3 separate regions of the Homo sapiens genome follow, and all the other regions are linked to region 1. Evidence: promoter capture Hi-C in 16 types of primary human blood cells and fetal thymus (Javierre and others, 2016). All regions are on one chromosome and are shown on one strand. Each heading gives the region's core, a stretch centred on a gene start or on the middle of the fragment in contact. The rest is flanking DNA. Distances are from core to core; before and after follow the strand shown. Region 1 holds the start of KLHDC4 (kelch domain containing 4). Region 2 holds the start of MTHFSD (methenyltetrahydrofolate synthetase domain containing). Region 3 overlaps FOXC2 (forkhead box C2).

Region 1 (5,098 bases), core at 1,874-4,373:
CAACTACACACACCTGCAGACCATCTTCCCTCCCCCACACCCACCTCTCCAACCTCACCTCCCACCTGGCCTCACTCTCCAAGATACACCAGCGTCCTCTCCGTTCCTTCAATGAAAACGCCAGGTTCCCTCAGCCTGCCACGCCCCACCTCGTGCTTCCTTCAGTCTACCTCTCATCTCAGGGTGAATGTCAGCAGGGTACACTGCTTAGTATTCTAAACGATGCAATATTTAAAACACACAAGTTAACAGAACTTTATCCAAGACATTCCTGTATACGGTTCCCAGGGTAAGGAATAAAGTGTCACCCACATGTACCCACCCACACATTCCCTCAAGTAACCACTATCTGGAACTCGATGCTTATTAGTCTCACGCTTTTCTTCAATCTTTTATTACACATGTGTATCCCTAAGCAACATATAGTATTGTTTTACATTTTTAAATGTCATTAAATGGACTGGGCACAGTGGCTCACGCCTGTAATCCCCGAACTTTGGGAGGCCGAGGCAGGTGGATAATTTGAGGTCAGGAGTTCGAGACCAGCCTGACCAACACGGTGAAACCCCGTCTCTACTAAAAAATACAAAAATTAGCCGGCCACAGTGGCGCACACCTGTAGTCCCAAACTACTCGGGAGGCTGAGGCAGGAGAATTGCTTGAGCCTGGGAGGCAGAGGTTGCAATGAGCTGAGATCATGCCACTGCGACACTTGCTCTGGGTGACAGAGCAGGACTCCATCTCAAAAAAAATAAAAAATAAAATGTCATTAAATGGTATCATACTGTATATTCTTTCAACTTGCTTTTTTTGCTCAACGAGGTTAAACAAACAGTTCAAATACTAACGTCTATGTACCGCGAAAGCTTTGCTGCTGCTACTTAGAGCGGTCTTTGACCTTGGCTGAACCTCATCATCATTGGGTGACTGAAGGAGAGCAAGGTGGTAGGGTCTGGGTGACGCCAGTGGCCTAGCCAGTGACAGCCTCTCCAAAGTGACAATAAGCTGAATGCTGAAAAGACGACTCAGACGGAGTATGGTTGGGGTATAGGTAAGACCACAGACACAACTTGCCATGTTTGAGACACTAAAAGACACTGTGGCTGGAGTGAGCCCAGGGAGACAGCTGGAAAGACAGGCAGAGGCCAGGACTAAGTGAAGGTGCGAACCAGGTGACCTGATACATGAGTTCTGTGGGAGCAGAATTCCAAACTGTCCCCAATCCTTCCCCCAATAATTGCCAGGACTGTGAAAGAATGGGATACCACTCTTGTGATTAGGTTGTATTACAGACACAGCTGAATTTAAGAAAGAGATGATCCTCTGTGGGTCTAGCCTAATCAGACGCCCACTTATTTTAAAAGTTTGTTTTGAGGGTTCATTCAGATAACATACAAACCCCAGGCCTGACAGGCTCTCTCTCTTAAGGGAAGCTACTGTTACAATCACCTTAGTATTGGGTACTGGAGGGAGACATGGAGATGAGTAAAAATGACAGGTAACTGGCGGGGCAAGGTGGCTTACGGCTTGTAATCCCAGCACTTTGGGAGGCCGAGGCGAGCGCATCACCTGAGGTCAGGAGTCCCAGACCAGCCTGACCAAAACGGTGAAACCCGGTCTCTATTAAAAATACAAAATTAGCTGGGTGTGGTGGTGCATGCCTGTAATCTCAGCTACTTGGGAGGCTGAGGCAGGAGAACCACTTGAACCTGGGAGGCGGAGGTGCAGTGAGCTGAGATCGCACCATTGCACTCCACCCTGGGCAACAAGAGTGAAACTCCTTCAAAAAAAAAAAAAAAAAAAAAAAAAAAAAGCAGAAAGCAGCTAACAGCTGGTTACTGAGTGCTTACTTTCTGCCAAGCACCATTCTGAAGATACCACACAGATGAACTGACTTCCTGTGCCACAACCCTAGCCAGCAGGTCATGCCACTGCAGCCCAGCCTAGGTGACAGAGCAAGACTCTGTCAAAAAAAAAAAAAAAAAAAAGAAAGAGCCTAAGAGGAGTGTGAGGGAAAAGTCCAACTCCATTATTTAAGAGATGAGGACATGGAGAGATCAATGACTTAGGAAGAAAAGGGACAAAGGACTGTGGTCAAGAGCTCCTGATTCAGGACATCTGGTCACATCCCAGTTCCATACCACTTCATGGTTCACCTGTTGGTCTTCCTGTCAAATGGGAATACCAGTGCTACGGAACTGACCTGCTCGTGAGGAGTAAAGCCCAGGGAGCTGTGCCTGGCGCACGGCAGGCCATAAAACTGGCCCCGGTTAGGGAATCCATGAGCAGCAGCCGCAGAACACTCAACCCCAAGGTCAGGACGGATCCTCCTGCAGACCCCGGGCTGAGGACCAGAGGGAAGGAGACAACCGTGATGGCCGCCATCAGCTGCTACGGGATACCCCGTGGCTCCAGTGCCTTCTTCACTTAACCATCTGCTGCTCACTGCTCAGGGCTGCTGTGATGATTATTTGCCCTCTTTTGAAAGAAAAGTAAGGTTCAGAAAAGTTAAGAGTCTTACTCCCAGACCACACATCATGCAGAGGCAGCCCCCGGCTCAACCTCAGGTCTTCCTGTGCCAAACCCCTCCCTCTTCTCACCACCCAGCCTCCCTTCAGAGGGAGGGTGGAGGGAGAAGGGAGGAGGGGGAGGAAACGCAGAAAAACGCCCGTGACACCACACTAAGAAAAGCAAGCACGTTAAAGGGGGCAGCTCCGAGAAGCGGACAGACACACGTGGAGACTCAGGAGGGGGCGGGCCCCGTCTGGGCTGCCCGGACGCGGCGCCGGGGCAGTTCCTACGGCCTCCAGCTCTCCCGCAGGGCCGGCGCGGCTCCCACGGCCGACCCGTAACCCCGGGGGGCGCAGGGAGTCGGCCGAGGCTGCACGGCCGCGACGTCGGGCCGCTAAGCCCGGTCTGACCCGCTCACCTCCTCCTTCCGCGAGCGCTTAGACACCTTCTTCTCCATCTTGGCGGCCGTCTTCTCCGCGCCGCGGCCCTTCTTCTCCTTCTTGCCCTTCTTGCCCATCTTGCCGGGTCCCAAGCCGCGACGGGACACCAGGAAAGAAAACGGCCCGCGCTCTCCGCTCGGAAACAGGTGCTCGTGGGGCGGAGCTCGGCGCACAGAAATGGAGTCACTTCCGGCCCCGAGTTCGAGCCGCTTCCGGGTAGAGGTGCGGCTGGGCCCTTTACGAGGTTCGGTCTTGGAGCTCCGTCTTCGGCAGCGGGCTCGGGGGCCTCGGACTCTGCATAAGGCCCCGGAAAAGATGACCGGCCCCGGGCTGGGCGCGGTGGCTCATGCCTGTAACCCTGGAGCTTTGGGAGGCCTTGGCGGGCGGATCGCTTGAGTCCAGGAGTTCGAGATCAGCCTGGGCAACAAAGCGAGACACCACCCCCCACCCCCAGTCGCTACAGAAGAAAAAAAAAAAAATTAACCGGGCGTGGTGTCTCGCGCCCAGTGGTCCTAGCTCCTCGGGAAGGTGAGGCGGGAAGATCGCTTGAGTCAAGGAGTTCCAGGCAGCAATGCGCCCCTGCACCCCAACCTGGGCGACAGAGCGAGATCCTGTTTCAAAAAACAAAAAAGATGGCAGCCCCGGCCTGACATACCCCGGCCATGCTCGCCAATTCTCACGCCCTGTGCCCCCACCTAGCCTGTCCCCGTGTCCTAGGAGACGTGCCCTCTGAGTTTTATTTTTTATTTCTATTTTTTTGAGGCAGGGTCTTGCTCTGTCGCCCAGGCTGGAGTGCGGTAGCGCGATCTCGGCTCGCTGTAACCTCCGCCTCTGGAGTAGCTGGGACCACAGGAGCCCACCACGCCCGGCTCATTTTCTCTTGAGTTTTCCGGGGTGCACGTGCCCCCCGTTAAGGCACATTGCTTCGCCCTGGGTAGAACTAAGTGGGCGACTCTTGGGCTAGCCCCATTTTTTCCCCTCAGACCAAACAAATGAGTGCTTTTTTCCCAGAAAAAAAATTTCACACAGTTATAAGATTTTGCAGATCCTGAGTAAGACAGTCCCTGCCGGGCGCGGTGGCTCACGCCTGTAATCCCAGCACTTTGGGAGGCCGAGGTGAGTGGATCACGAGGTCAGGAGTTCGAGACCAGCCTAGCCAACATGGTGAAACCCCCGTCTCTACTAAAACTACAAAAATTAGCCAGGCGTGGTGGTGGGCACCTGTAATCCCAGCTACTTGGGAGGCTGAGGCAGGAGAATTGCTTGAACCCAGGGGGCAGAGGTTGCAATGAGCTGAGATCAAGCCACTTCACTCCAGCTTGGGCAAAAGAGCAAAATTCCATCTTAAAAAAAAAAAAAAATGGGGGGGCCCTTCCACCTTCCCATTTAAAATGTGCCAGACACTGTTAGGTACTAAGGGCATGTCCTCAAATGTCCTAACATGGAGGACTTTTGTTTCTTCATAGGTAGGCTAGAGCTAATGATAGCACCCTGAAAGGGTACTCAATTTGTGGAGCCTGAGAAATAAAGATAGGTAATATCCAAATGCCTGCTAGGAAATTGTACTCTAGGATTTGCCTCAAATTACGTAAGAAATGGCAAAATCATCTGCAGTGCATGGAATGTTATGATTTGAAAGAGCAGAGTAAAAATGCTTATCACTACTTAGAAGATGTCATCTTTGGATGGGTAATCAAGGAATAAGGCAAATTAAGGACAAGGACAAGCCAAAATTTGGCAAAGGGAAAGCATAAATCAGGAAATAATCTAGTTTATTACTTTGTGTGTGAGTCAGCCTTTAAAAGTTCTCTTAGGCCAGGCGTGGTGGTTCATTCCTGTAATCCCAGCACTTTGGGAGGCTGAAGCGGGCTGATCACGAGGTCAGGAGTTCAAGACCAGCCTGGCCAATATGGTGAAACCCTGTCTCCACTAAAAATACAAAAAAAAAAAAAAAAATTAGCCAGGTGTGGTGGCACCCACCTGTAGTCCCAACTATTCAGGAGGCTGAGGCAAAAGAATCATTTGAACCTAGGCGGCAGAGGTTGCAGTGAGCGGAGATTGCACCACTGCACTCCAGCCTGGGCGACAAAGCAAGACTCCATCTCAAAAAAAAAAAAAAAAAAAGATGTTATCTTAGATCCAGCCAG
Region 2 (5,098 bases), core at 1,747-4,246, 1.2 Mb before region 1:
GTTATCAGCTGCGATTTGCTCCAGCAAAACCATATCAACCATTACGTTAAATTAATGGGGCCATTTGAATGTTACTGATTTTATAGTTTTGTTTGTATTTAACTTATATGCTTATTTTGGTTTTATAGTTACATAAAAGCTATCTGCATTAAAATTTATACCAAGTTTTATGTTTATCATATTGAATTAGTTTATAATAAACTAATTTAAATCAACCCTGGGGGAGTTTTCTGGTTTTCCTTGAAAAGGGGCCTGTATGTTTTCAGTTGAGGAACAAGTGCTCTAACCGATACCTTTTGAGGGTACATCAGACTTCTTACTCGTGATTTATCATGTTTCAAAGCATCATAATACCACAACTGTGGCAAAAAGAACTAAATCTTCCTTGTAATCTTCCTCCTCTGATGAAGCACATCAAAACTGAGAATGCTTCAACGCCATAGTTTTTGTGTTTGTTTGGTTAGGAAGTTAAAAAATAAAAATTACAAAAGCATGCCTGAATTTAAAAAGTTCAGCAGTGTTGAGAAGAAACCTTTCCAGTTCTTAACCGTGGTCTTTATAGTATCAGAACATGACAAGTGACCGTCTGTCATCCAGAAGCAAATGATTCTGTGTTCAGCAAGCTTGTTAGCATGCTCATTTCAAATGGCAAAGTGGTGTCATCTATTTCAGCTCCAGCTCCTCAATTCTGGAACACCACAGGTTCTGCCTGGGTTCCCTCTCCTGTGCCAACTGGGCCTGGAAGCCATTGTTTTGAACATCCTTTATCTCTGAATTTAGAAGCATTCGGGACTCCTGATTGACTGAATTGCTAAACAGCTGAAGGGCTTCTGAACTATTCTTGGAAAAATCACCACCAAGGGCACTTTCTGTATTGGAGGGAATCGGAAGCACCGACTTTCTAAATGCAAGACAGACGTGTGCACTGACCAGCTACCTGGAAAAGGTGTCCCCCTTGGCGGCCAGGTCTCGGCTCGGCTCAGGGAAGTGGAATTACCTGCAGCACCAGCAGCCGAACGCCTTCCAGTGGTTTATCAGGGTCCACTTTAACTTCCTGTGTTCTGGCAAAAACGTCTAGGTCTTTGATGTTTTGGCAAGCCAGATAAGACCCCTAGTTAGGCAAATAGACAGAGTTGCACTTACTTCAAGGACGAAGAAGCGAGCACTTTTCTGGGGGGCATCAGGATTTACTTTAATGGTCCTGGCCGTTTTGAACGCCTGCAAGCGTGGGAGTTGCTCGGCAGCATGAGAAGCGCCCTGTTTCCAATGCAATCGCACGTTACTGAAAGGACAGCACGCTCTCAGGCCAACTGCAGCCCAAGCAGCTCGGCCCAGAATCTCACCCAGACAGGCACTAACAGTCACCCAAAGAAACATCTAAGGAAGCAGTCTAAGTAAGGAAAGGGATTTGAGAAAAGTAGCCTAATCCCACTTGAGCTTTAACTGAAATGAAACATGCATTCCAAAAAGAATACAAATCCCAAGGGCAAAATTTGATGATTTTTCACAAAATGAAGGCTGCTGTGTAACCACCACCAAAATCAAGCAGTAGCATGACCTGGAAGCCCCCACCTCTCTCCTGTTTGATTCGTTTTTTAAAGATTTCTACATGATTCTCTACATCCTTCATCTTTACCTCTGTTAAGATACATTTCTCTCTCTGGGGTCAGAAGCATTAAAACAAAACACAGTAACAACAAAAAACCATCAAAAGATCAGTTTTTCAAAGGGACAGGACAGTCTTGGAACCACCTCAGCTGAGGACCAGGGAAGGTGGAGCTTGTTGTGGAGAAGCCAGGCTTGGGGAGAGGCAGTCCTGACAAAATGGGGTGAAGCAAGCCAACAGCTAAGTCCTTCAGGGCAGAGAGCATTTTTGAAAAGCGCTTTCTTTTGCTCTTGGAAAATAGGCATGTCAAAGATGATGAACTGCTGCATTGCCTCTTCCGAGTAACCTTTTTTTTTTCTGTCAACACTGTTAGGAACAGCCATCTTTGATTGTCTTACATTTTGATCAGCTGGGAAACTGAGGCCCAGCATCCTTAGGCTGGCAAGGCATTCATTTCTTTCCAAAGGCCTAGAGCCTGAACTTCCAGTTCAGTACCCCTTCATTCCCTAACGCTCTTAGCAGGGTCAATTTTGTGAAAAGCCATTACGACAATAACATGCTTCCGGCCAGGATAAATATTTTACTTTGTATCAAACAGAAAACAGCAACTAGCACCACCTTGAAAGGTGACAGCGTGCTGGCAGCCCTCGGTCCCTCTCGGCGCCTCCTCGGCCTTGGCGCCTACTCTGGCCGTGCTTGAGGAGCCCTTCATCCCGCAGCTGCACTGTGGGAGCCCCTTTCTGGACTGGCCCAGGCCGGCTCCCTCAGCTTGCTGGGCGGTGTGGAGGGAGAGGCGCGGGCGGGAACTGCTGCTGTGCATGGTGCTTGTGGGCCAGCGCGAGTTCCATGTAGGCGTGGGGAGCCCCGCACTCACAGCGGCTGGCCCTGGGCAGTGAGGGGCTTAGCACCTGGGCCACCAGCTGCTGTGCTCTATTTCTCGCCGGGCCTTAGCTGCCTCCCCAAGACCTGCAGCCTGCCATGCCTGAGCCTCCCCACCCCCACCGGCGGGCTCCTGTGCAGCTAGAGCCTCCCCGAGGAGCGACGCTCCTGCTCCACGGTGCCTGGTGCCATCCACTGCCCAACGGCTGAGGAGTGCGGGTGCACTGCACGGGACTGGCAGGCAGCTCCACCTGCAGCCCCAGTGCGGGATCTGCTGGGTGAAGTCAGCTGGGCTCCTGAGGCTGGTGGGGACTTGGAGAATCTTTATGTCTAGCTAAGGGATTGTAAACACACCAATCAGCACCCTGTGTCTAGCTCAGAGTTTGTGAATGCACCAATGGGCACTCTGTATGTAGCTAATCTAGTGGGGAGGTGGAGAACTTTTGTGTCTAGCTCAGGGATTGTAAACGCACCAATCAGCATCCTGTCAAAACGGACCAATCGGCTCTCTGTAAAATGGACCAATCAGCAGGATGTGGGTGGGGCCAGATAAGAGATTAAAAGCAGGCTGCCTGAACCAGCAGCAACAACCCTCTCCAATCCCCTTCCACATTGTGGAAGGTTTGTTCTTTGCAATAAATCTTGCTGCTGCTCATTCTTTGAGTCCACCCTGCCTTTGTGAGCTGCAACACTCTCTGCTAAGGTCTGCAGCTTCACTCCTGAAGCCAGCAAAGACCGTGAACCCACCAGAAGGAAGAAACTCTGAACACATCCAAACATCAGAAGGAACAAACTCCAGACACGCTGCCTTTAAAAACTGTAACACTCACTGCGAGGCTTCATTCTTGAAGTCAGTGAGACCAAGAACCCACCAATTCTGGACACAACCTCACCTAGAGACAACCAAACCACCCTGCACAGAGACGCAAGAGGCCCCAGGTGAAGAGTAAATGACGTCTCTAAATGCTAAGGACGCCCTGGCCAAATGGCTTTGATTTCACACCACTGCTCACTGCTCGCCACATTCTCATCCACCATGACGCAGTAAGAGAATTTTATTACTAGTGTTATTCATTTAAGAATATTTTGTTTTCCTTTTCTGGACTCCAGAAATATGTCAGTACCTTAAAGTTGGGTATCCTGTGATGAACAGGTCGGGGAAAGTCAGCTAAATTTTGTGATTCCATGTAGCCCCAAATTTGTTCACGTATGTCCTGTTTGGAGACACCTACTGCAACAAAAGATTCCCACTTAATAACATACAAAGGAATTCCAGAGCCCATGCTGAAACCGCTTAACAGTAGTTAAGCGACCCCCGCGTGTAGGTCAAACCGGCTTCCGATCCTGTTCCTGAGCCTCAGTTTCCCCGACCTCAAGGGGCCCACGGGCTCCCCCACGTGCACGGCAGGTGTCCCTCCCGCCTCGTCTTCTCGTTATCTTTATTTTTCCTGACATCTTTCTCGGGATTCCGGGCGAGAGAGCCGCTGGTTCGACCCGAACCCAGCACAGACCCCCTCTGACCTCCTCGGCCGCTTCCGGTGATTCTGCCCCATCCTCTGCCAGCCCCGGTGGCCCCGCCTCGACCCTCACCGGTCCCGGCTGTCCCTCCCCATTCCCAGCCGCCCCGGAGCCCCGCCAGGCCCCCCACCTGCCCTCGGCTCCATGGTGATGCAGTCGCTGTGCGACGCTTCCCGGCGCAGGTTCTGGCGCGTAGTGACGTCACCCGCTCCGCGCCTGCGCGATGGTAGGAGGGGCGGAGGCTGAGCGGGCGAGGCCCAGGCGCGCATGCTCGGGCGGGTAAAATCCGCGCCGGGGACAGTCAGGGATGCTCCCAGGCCCTTCGCTCTTGCTTTCAGCTAGTCATTGTCGAGCGCCGCCCGTGACAGGCGTTTTGCCAAGCCCTGGAGTTACTGAAGTGAACAAGTCCCTGGTCTCTCGGGACCCATTGCCGGTTGAAACACATCCCGCCTCCTCTTCCAGTCCTAGAGGCCGCCTCCTCCGGAAAGCCGGCCTTGATTGCTCCTCATGTAGGACGCGGTTCCCTCCTCTGAGATCCTGCAGACTCTCAGGTGCTCACACGTGGGTGTGCAGCGGATTCAGCCGGCAGCTCTTTAAAGCGGCAGGCAGATGGAAATTCGAGGCCAGCCCAGCCCCGGCGACTGCGCTGCGGACGGCCAGAGGCCATCCTTTGAGAAACACCCGTGGATTCTTACCCTGACCTCTGCATACCCTGAGAAAGAACGAACGTGGCAGCCTGCGTCTGCTTGTCTATGTCTTTCATGTTTGCTAACCTAAGGGTCGAGAAGCGGCTCGAGGAGACCAGGCTGCACAGACCGTCACGTCCATTCCCTCTCTGGCCCCAGCCCCGCGGGAAGAAAACGAGGGCGTTCAGCCTGGCAGTTCATTCACTTATTAGGAAGAAGACATCCCACACCCCCACCCAGCACACACACAGATGTCAGGGACCAGCCACTAGGAACCACTCCCTGAGCGAATGAAGGCATCCCCGTAGCCACGTGCCTGGTACATCACAAGCACTCAAAACGTGGCTGCCACCTTTCGAAATTGCATGCCCAAAACTTTATGAGATCCTCACAACACACTTGGGAAACA
Region 3 (5,098 bases), core at 778-3,277, 1.2 Mb before region 1:
CCCGACGGCTCGCTGCCGGAGCACCACGCCGCGGCGCCCAACGGGCTGCCTGGCTTCAGCGTGGAGAACATCATGACCCTGCGAACGTCGCCGCCGGGCGGAGAGCTGAGCCCGGGGGCCGGACGCGCGGGCCTGGTGGTGCCGCCGCTGGCGCTGCCCTACGCCGCCGCGCCGCCCGCCGCCTACGGCCAGCCGTGCGCTCAGGGCCTGGAGGCCGGGGCCGCCGGGGGCTACCAGTGCAGCATGCGAGCGATGAGCCTGTACACCGGGGCCGAGCGGCCGGCGCACATGTGCGTCCCGCCCGCCCTGGACGAGGCCCTCTCGGACCACCCGAGCGGCCCCACGTCGCCCCTGAGCGCTCTCAACCTCGCCGCCGGCCAGGAGGGCGCGCTCGCCGCCACGGGCCACCACCACCAGCACCACGGCCACCACCACCCGCAGGCGCCGCCGCCCCCGCCGGCTCCCCAGCCCCAGCCGACGCCGCAGCCCGGGGCCGCCGCGGCGCAGGCGGCCTCCTGGTATCTCAACCACAGCGGGGACCTGAACCACCTCCCCGGCCACACGTTCGCGGCCCAGCAGCAAACTTTCCCCAACGTGCGGGAGATGTTCAACTCCCACCGGCTGGGGATTGAGAACTCGACCCTCGGGGAGTCCCAGGTGAGTGGCAATGCCAGCTGCCAGCTGCCCTACAGATCCACGCCGCCTCTCTATCGCCACGCAGCCCCCTACTCCTACGACTGCACGAAATACTGACGTGTCCCGGGACCTCCCCTCCCCGGCCCGCTCCGGCTTCGCTTCCCAGCCCCGACCCAACCAGACAATTAAGGGGCTGCAGAGACGCAAAAAAGAAACAAAACATGTCCACCAACCTTTTCTCAGACCCGGGAGCAGAGAGCGGGCACGCTAGCCCCCAGCCGTCTGTGAAGAGCGCAGGTAACTTTAATTCGCCGCCCCGTTTCTGGGATCCCAGGAAACCCCTCCAAAGGGACGCAGCCCAACAAAATGAGTATTGATCTTAAAATCCCCCTCCCCTACCAGGACGGCTGTGCTGTGCTCGACCTGAGCTTTCAAAAGTTAAGTTATGGACCAAATCCCATAGCGAGCCCCTAGTGACTTTCTGTAGGGGTCCCCATAGGTGTATGGGGGTCTCTATAGATAATATATGTGCTGTGTGTAATTTTAAATTTCTCCAACCGTGCTGTACAAATGTGTGGATTTGTAATCAGGCTATTTTGTTGTTGTTGTTGTTGTTCAGAGCCATTAATATAATATTTAAAGTTGAGTTCACTGGATAAGTTTTTCATCTTGCCCAACCATTTCTAACTGCCAAATTGAATTCAAGAAACCGATGTGGGTTTTGTTTCCTGTACAATTATGAGATATAATTCTTTTTCCCATTGTAGGTCTTTTACAAAACAAGAAAATAATTTATTTTTTTGTTGGTGGATAAAGAAGTCAAGTATCTGATACTTTTTATTTACAAAGTGTGATGGTTTTGTATAGTAGGTTCCACCCTGAGTATTCCTAAAAGAAAAAAAAAAAAAAAGCTTAAAAACTCTAACTTCATCTGTGTTTGTCTTACGTGGTCTTAATCGTTGTACTTACCTTAAAATAAACCCATGTTGTTTTTTCTGCCCAAAGTTTGGACAGTGTGTTTGTGTTGTTGCATTTTTTACAAACGAGGTGTGTTTGCAAACCCACCTGCTTTGATTATTTTTGTTACACAGGTGGGTATATGTGTAGACACATAAAAACGACCAGAGAATAGGAGCACACACCTGCTGTCTTGTTTAGTGACAGAAAAAGGCTTTTGATTAATTTTAAAATCCCACTCTAGGATTTTTTCTTTTCGAGAAACCGCCCAGTTGGAGGGGGCTGCCTGAAGGACCGGACCATGAGTTTGCCGTGATGCATTTTCTTAAATGCACAAAAACATGCTAATTGTCAAAACAAACAGTGCCACTCCATCTCAGTGTCCAGCCGTCCCCAGTTTAGGAGGTGAAGGAAGGGAAGAATAAACATTTCCCGTTTGCTAACTGCAACCCAGGGTGAGTCCTGCTTTCCCCCGATTTTATAAAATTTGAGCCTCTTTGCCTGCTTTAATAGTTTTCCAGAGAATTTGAACTGGGCCAATGAAGGTCTGAAGGGGACGGATTTTCTAGCGTTTGATATCCATCCCCCTTAGCGGCCAGATCAGAGGGGAATTTCAGACTTTATTACTTCTCAATGTCATGTCTAAATCTACACCCTCATCGCAGTGAAAAATTTTAAAACCTCATTACCCTTCAAAAATAATTTATGATATTTTTAGAGTTCTAAATTCAAGTTTTTCAATATGTTAAATAATAGAGATTATTTTTTGTTTTCAATGTTAATATCTCGTCTTTTACATTTTTAATAGTAACATAGTTTTTGTGAAATGTAGCTGACGAAATGGCTTTATTATCTATTTCAATGGCTGAAGTCCACCACTCCCCTGCTGGCCTCTATGTGTGAATTTGGGGACCAAAGCTTCATCAATTCCCACCCCAGCAGGTGAGCTGTACCTTGCTAATGCTGAAGTTCTTTGTGAGCTTAACGTTTCAAGACCAGATGATTTTGCTAAAGGTGATTTTGCTTGATGCAGTGGCGCTGAACGTAACCCGGGTGTTTTTCTTGTTGTTTTCAACATGGCACTTTATCTCCACGCTATGTTGAAATAGAATTAGGGGAAGCTTAAAGCATAATAATTTTCCCCACATGTGCAACACAGACTCTTTCAATCTGTGGCCCCAGAGGTGGCACACAGTTAAGACTTGGCGGCTGTCTCATTCTTTTTCATAATGTGCGGGTTCCCGGGTGTCCGGGTGCTAGACTTTCAGCAGGCCCCAGGCCAGACGGGCTTTGGTTGAGTGAACAGGAGGAGGAAGTTAAGGAGGTAGGGGTGGGGAGAGACCCTCTCCAAGCTGCAGAAGAAGGTGGCCCAAGCTCCTTGCCTGCGTCTGCCGTGATGGTTTCATTTTACTTCTGCTCGCTTCATGCTATTTGCCCCAGGAGAAGAGGAGAGTATTCCAGACGGTAAGCGAGCTGGCTTTTTCCCTTCCCTAGACGTTTTAAAGAAATCTTTCTGAAAGCTTGCCCTCATCGTAAGCTTTGAAACCGTTGGTGTCCTGTTAGTGGCGAGGCCTGAGAGACACACGGAAAATAAAGGAGAGCGACGGTGTGGCTGAGAGCCCCCAGCTCTGCTGTTGAAACTAAGCTGGGCTTTTGCACCTTTAGGAAGCCTTTTTAAAGAAGTCCTGCTGTGTGGGGGCCGGAAGCCCAAGTGAGTGGCCCTTGTGGAGGTTATCGGGAGGGGTTTTTTCCACTCCTTGGGGAACGTGGGCAACGGGGGGATTGTATCTGAAGCTTTATTCAGGTCTTCGGCGGCAGCAGAGTGGAGAACCAGGCCCTTAGTGTGTAGCGGCCTGGGGATTTTGGGACTCATCTGAGGGCCCTGTCACTCAAGGTTTCCTCGTTTCAGTGGGGACAGGGATAGGTGCGGTAAGTGCTAGAAGGCCGGTGGCCCCTTGTGCTGTGAGCTGGCTCAGAGCTCTGTGCAGCCCCTGTCTTCTGCAACCCCTGCGTCCTGCAGTGCCTGTGTGGACCTCAGGCCTGGGGGCTTAATGGCCTCTGGGGCATCTGTTGCTCTCCCAGCAGAGTGGGAAGATTCCACAGCACGTGCTGTGAATAGCCAACGTTCTCACCAACAGTTTTGCATCTTGGCAGCCACCCTGCTCGTCTGCTGCCCAGTGTACAAAAAGTACGTGCCCGGGGCATTGGCTATTCTTGATTCACTCATCTACCACCTTTTCCTGTTGCCTTCTGGTCCTCAGGAGGTTCTGGGCCTTTCAAGGAAAGGTGGAAGGAGGTTGAGGATGGTAGGGTCAGAGTGTCTGCCACAGGCTGCAGGGACTCTGGGCTGGGGCGGCTCTGCAGACCACGCAAATGCAGTTTGCACGAAGTCTGTCTGATAACCCTGTGCCTTCCTGACCCAGTAAGAAGATATCGCAGGGCTAATCACAAAGGTGTGGCAAATAAAATGAAAGTGCCCGAACACCATGGCAGAGACCTTCCCATTGATTTAACGCTGCGTCCCTGGCGGGTTTTGGCTGGGTGGCTTCTGACTCTAAGCACAGTCCGGTTATGACAGATATGGGCCACCCGGAGAGACCCCCATGGCCTCTGAGCATCCCGTACATTCTCAGCCCCAGAGAGGCTATAGCCAGAGTAGCCTCCTCGAATGGGCCATCTTGTGTAACCTCTGAGGCTCCACCCCAAGTTCACAGCTTTCAGGAAGAGGGACTGCCTGCATCCTGCTGGCCGTGCCCAGGCCTCTGGAAGGCTGGGCTTGGGTCTGTGGTCAAAAGGCCATCACTGCTCTGGAATAGGTGACCTATCCCTGAAGATGCAAATCTTGCTGTGACTTTTGTCCGGGAATTGCTGGAGCACTGGGCTAGGAATGAGAAGACCACATCTTTCTGTGTGAACAAACCACTTCCCCTGCCTGGCCTTGGTCTCTTTATCTGTAAAATGACCAGGTGGCCAGGGCTGCGCTGCGCTCCCCTTCTGGGCATAGCCAGGGCTGCTGCCATGGGGCCTCACTTATGCTGCTGACCCTCCTGCCACCAAGACATGAAGATCAGAAACCAGACGCAGAAGAAAACACAGGGTCCTGGGAACTTCTGCGCTTGGCTCATAAATCTTTCGGGGGTCCGTCCCCTTCTCTTTACCCAGTGACTGCATGGGGGTTGCTGCTGGCGCAGGGAGAGGCTTGTGAACAGAGCTCCCAGCTCACCGGTGAAAATGAACCCTGTGTGCTTGTGAAGGTCTCCTCACTCCTCCTCCCCACCCCCATCCAAAAAAGGGGGTGGGGGTGTTGGGCAAGGTTGGTTGATGGGAACTTATTGTTAACTGAAAACATGAGCTGGGTGGAGCTGGAGACACCAAGATAAGACACTCATTGAAGGGTGGGCAGAGCCACGTGTCTGGAGAAAGTGCTGGGGTCTCCGAGCCTGTGGTTGGCACCTTGGGAACGTGTGTTTGCCTGGGTCCCTGGCTGACTCTCTCAGTGGGATGA

The links. The method cuts DNA at HindIII sites, captures the fragments that hold promoters and counts their contacts. A CHiCAGO score of 5 or more calls a contact.
Region 2: a fragment that was not itself captured here is called in contact with the fragment with the promoter of KLHDC4 in region 1 in 8 of 17 cell types (naive CD8 T cells, total CD4 T cells, naive CD4 T cells and 5 more); the score reaches 18.6 in naive CD8 T cells.
Region 3: a contact is called between a fragment that was not itself captured here and the fragment with the promoter of KLHDC4 in region 1, in 3 of 17 cell types (naive CD8 T cells, total CD4 T cells and naive CD4 T cells). The highest score is 14.1, in naive CD8 T cells.

The regions. Positions count from the first base shown.
Region 1 is chr16:87,762,863-87,767,960 of GRCh38, forward strand. KLHDC4 (kelch domain containing 4) reads right to left here and starts at 3,124. Exons shown (of 12, transcript NM_017566.4): 1 at 2,930-3,124. The coding sequence starts at 3,028. LOC105371399 (a long non-coding RNA gene) reads left to right here and starts at 3,179. Exons shown (of 3, transcript XR_933871.3): 1 at 3,179-3,479. LOC102724467 (a long non-coding RNA gene) reads right to left here. Exons shown (of 4, transcript NR_120309.1): 4 at 3,469-3,562. RefSeq lists enhancers at 2,412-3,036, 3,020-3,079, 3,160-3,219. The HindIII fragment of the contact is 5,415 bases long and covers 865-5,098 here.
Region 2 is chr16:86,551,036-86,556,133 of GRCh38, forward strand. MTHFSD (methenyltetrahydrofolate synthetase domain containing) reads right to left here and starts at 4,200. Exons shown (of 8, transcript NM_001159377.2): 1 at 4,134-4,200; 2 at 3,610-3,716; 3 at 998-1,111. The coding sequence starts at 4,149. It overlaps FLJ30679 (a long non-coding RNA gene), which reads left to right and starts at 4,285. Exons shown (of 1, transcript NR_026674.1): 1 at 4,285-5,098. RefSeq lists enhancers at 1,807-2,471, 2,472-3,134, 4,103-4,152, 4,193-4,482 and a silencer at 4,057-4,270. The HindIII fragment of the contact is 4,750 bases long and covers 622-5,098 here.
Region 3 is chr16:86,568,089-86,573,186 of GRCh38, forward strand. FOXC2 (forkhead box C2) reads left to right here. Exons shown (of 1, transcript NM_005251.3): 1 at 1-1,640. The coding sequence ends at 753. Among named protein-coding and RNA genes, the nearest start is that of FOXC2-AS1, 2.9 kb to the left of the region's middle. RefSeq lists enhancers at 1-44, 2,253-2,754. The HindIII fragment of the contact is 964 bases long and covers 1,546-2,509 here.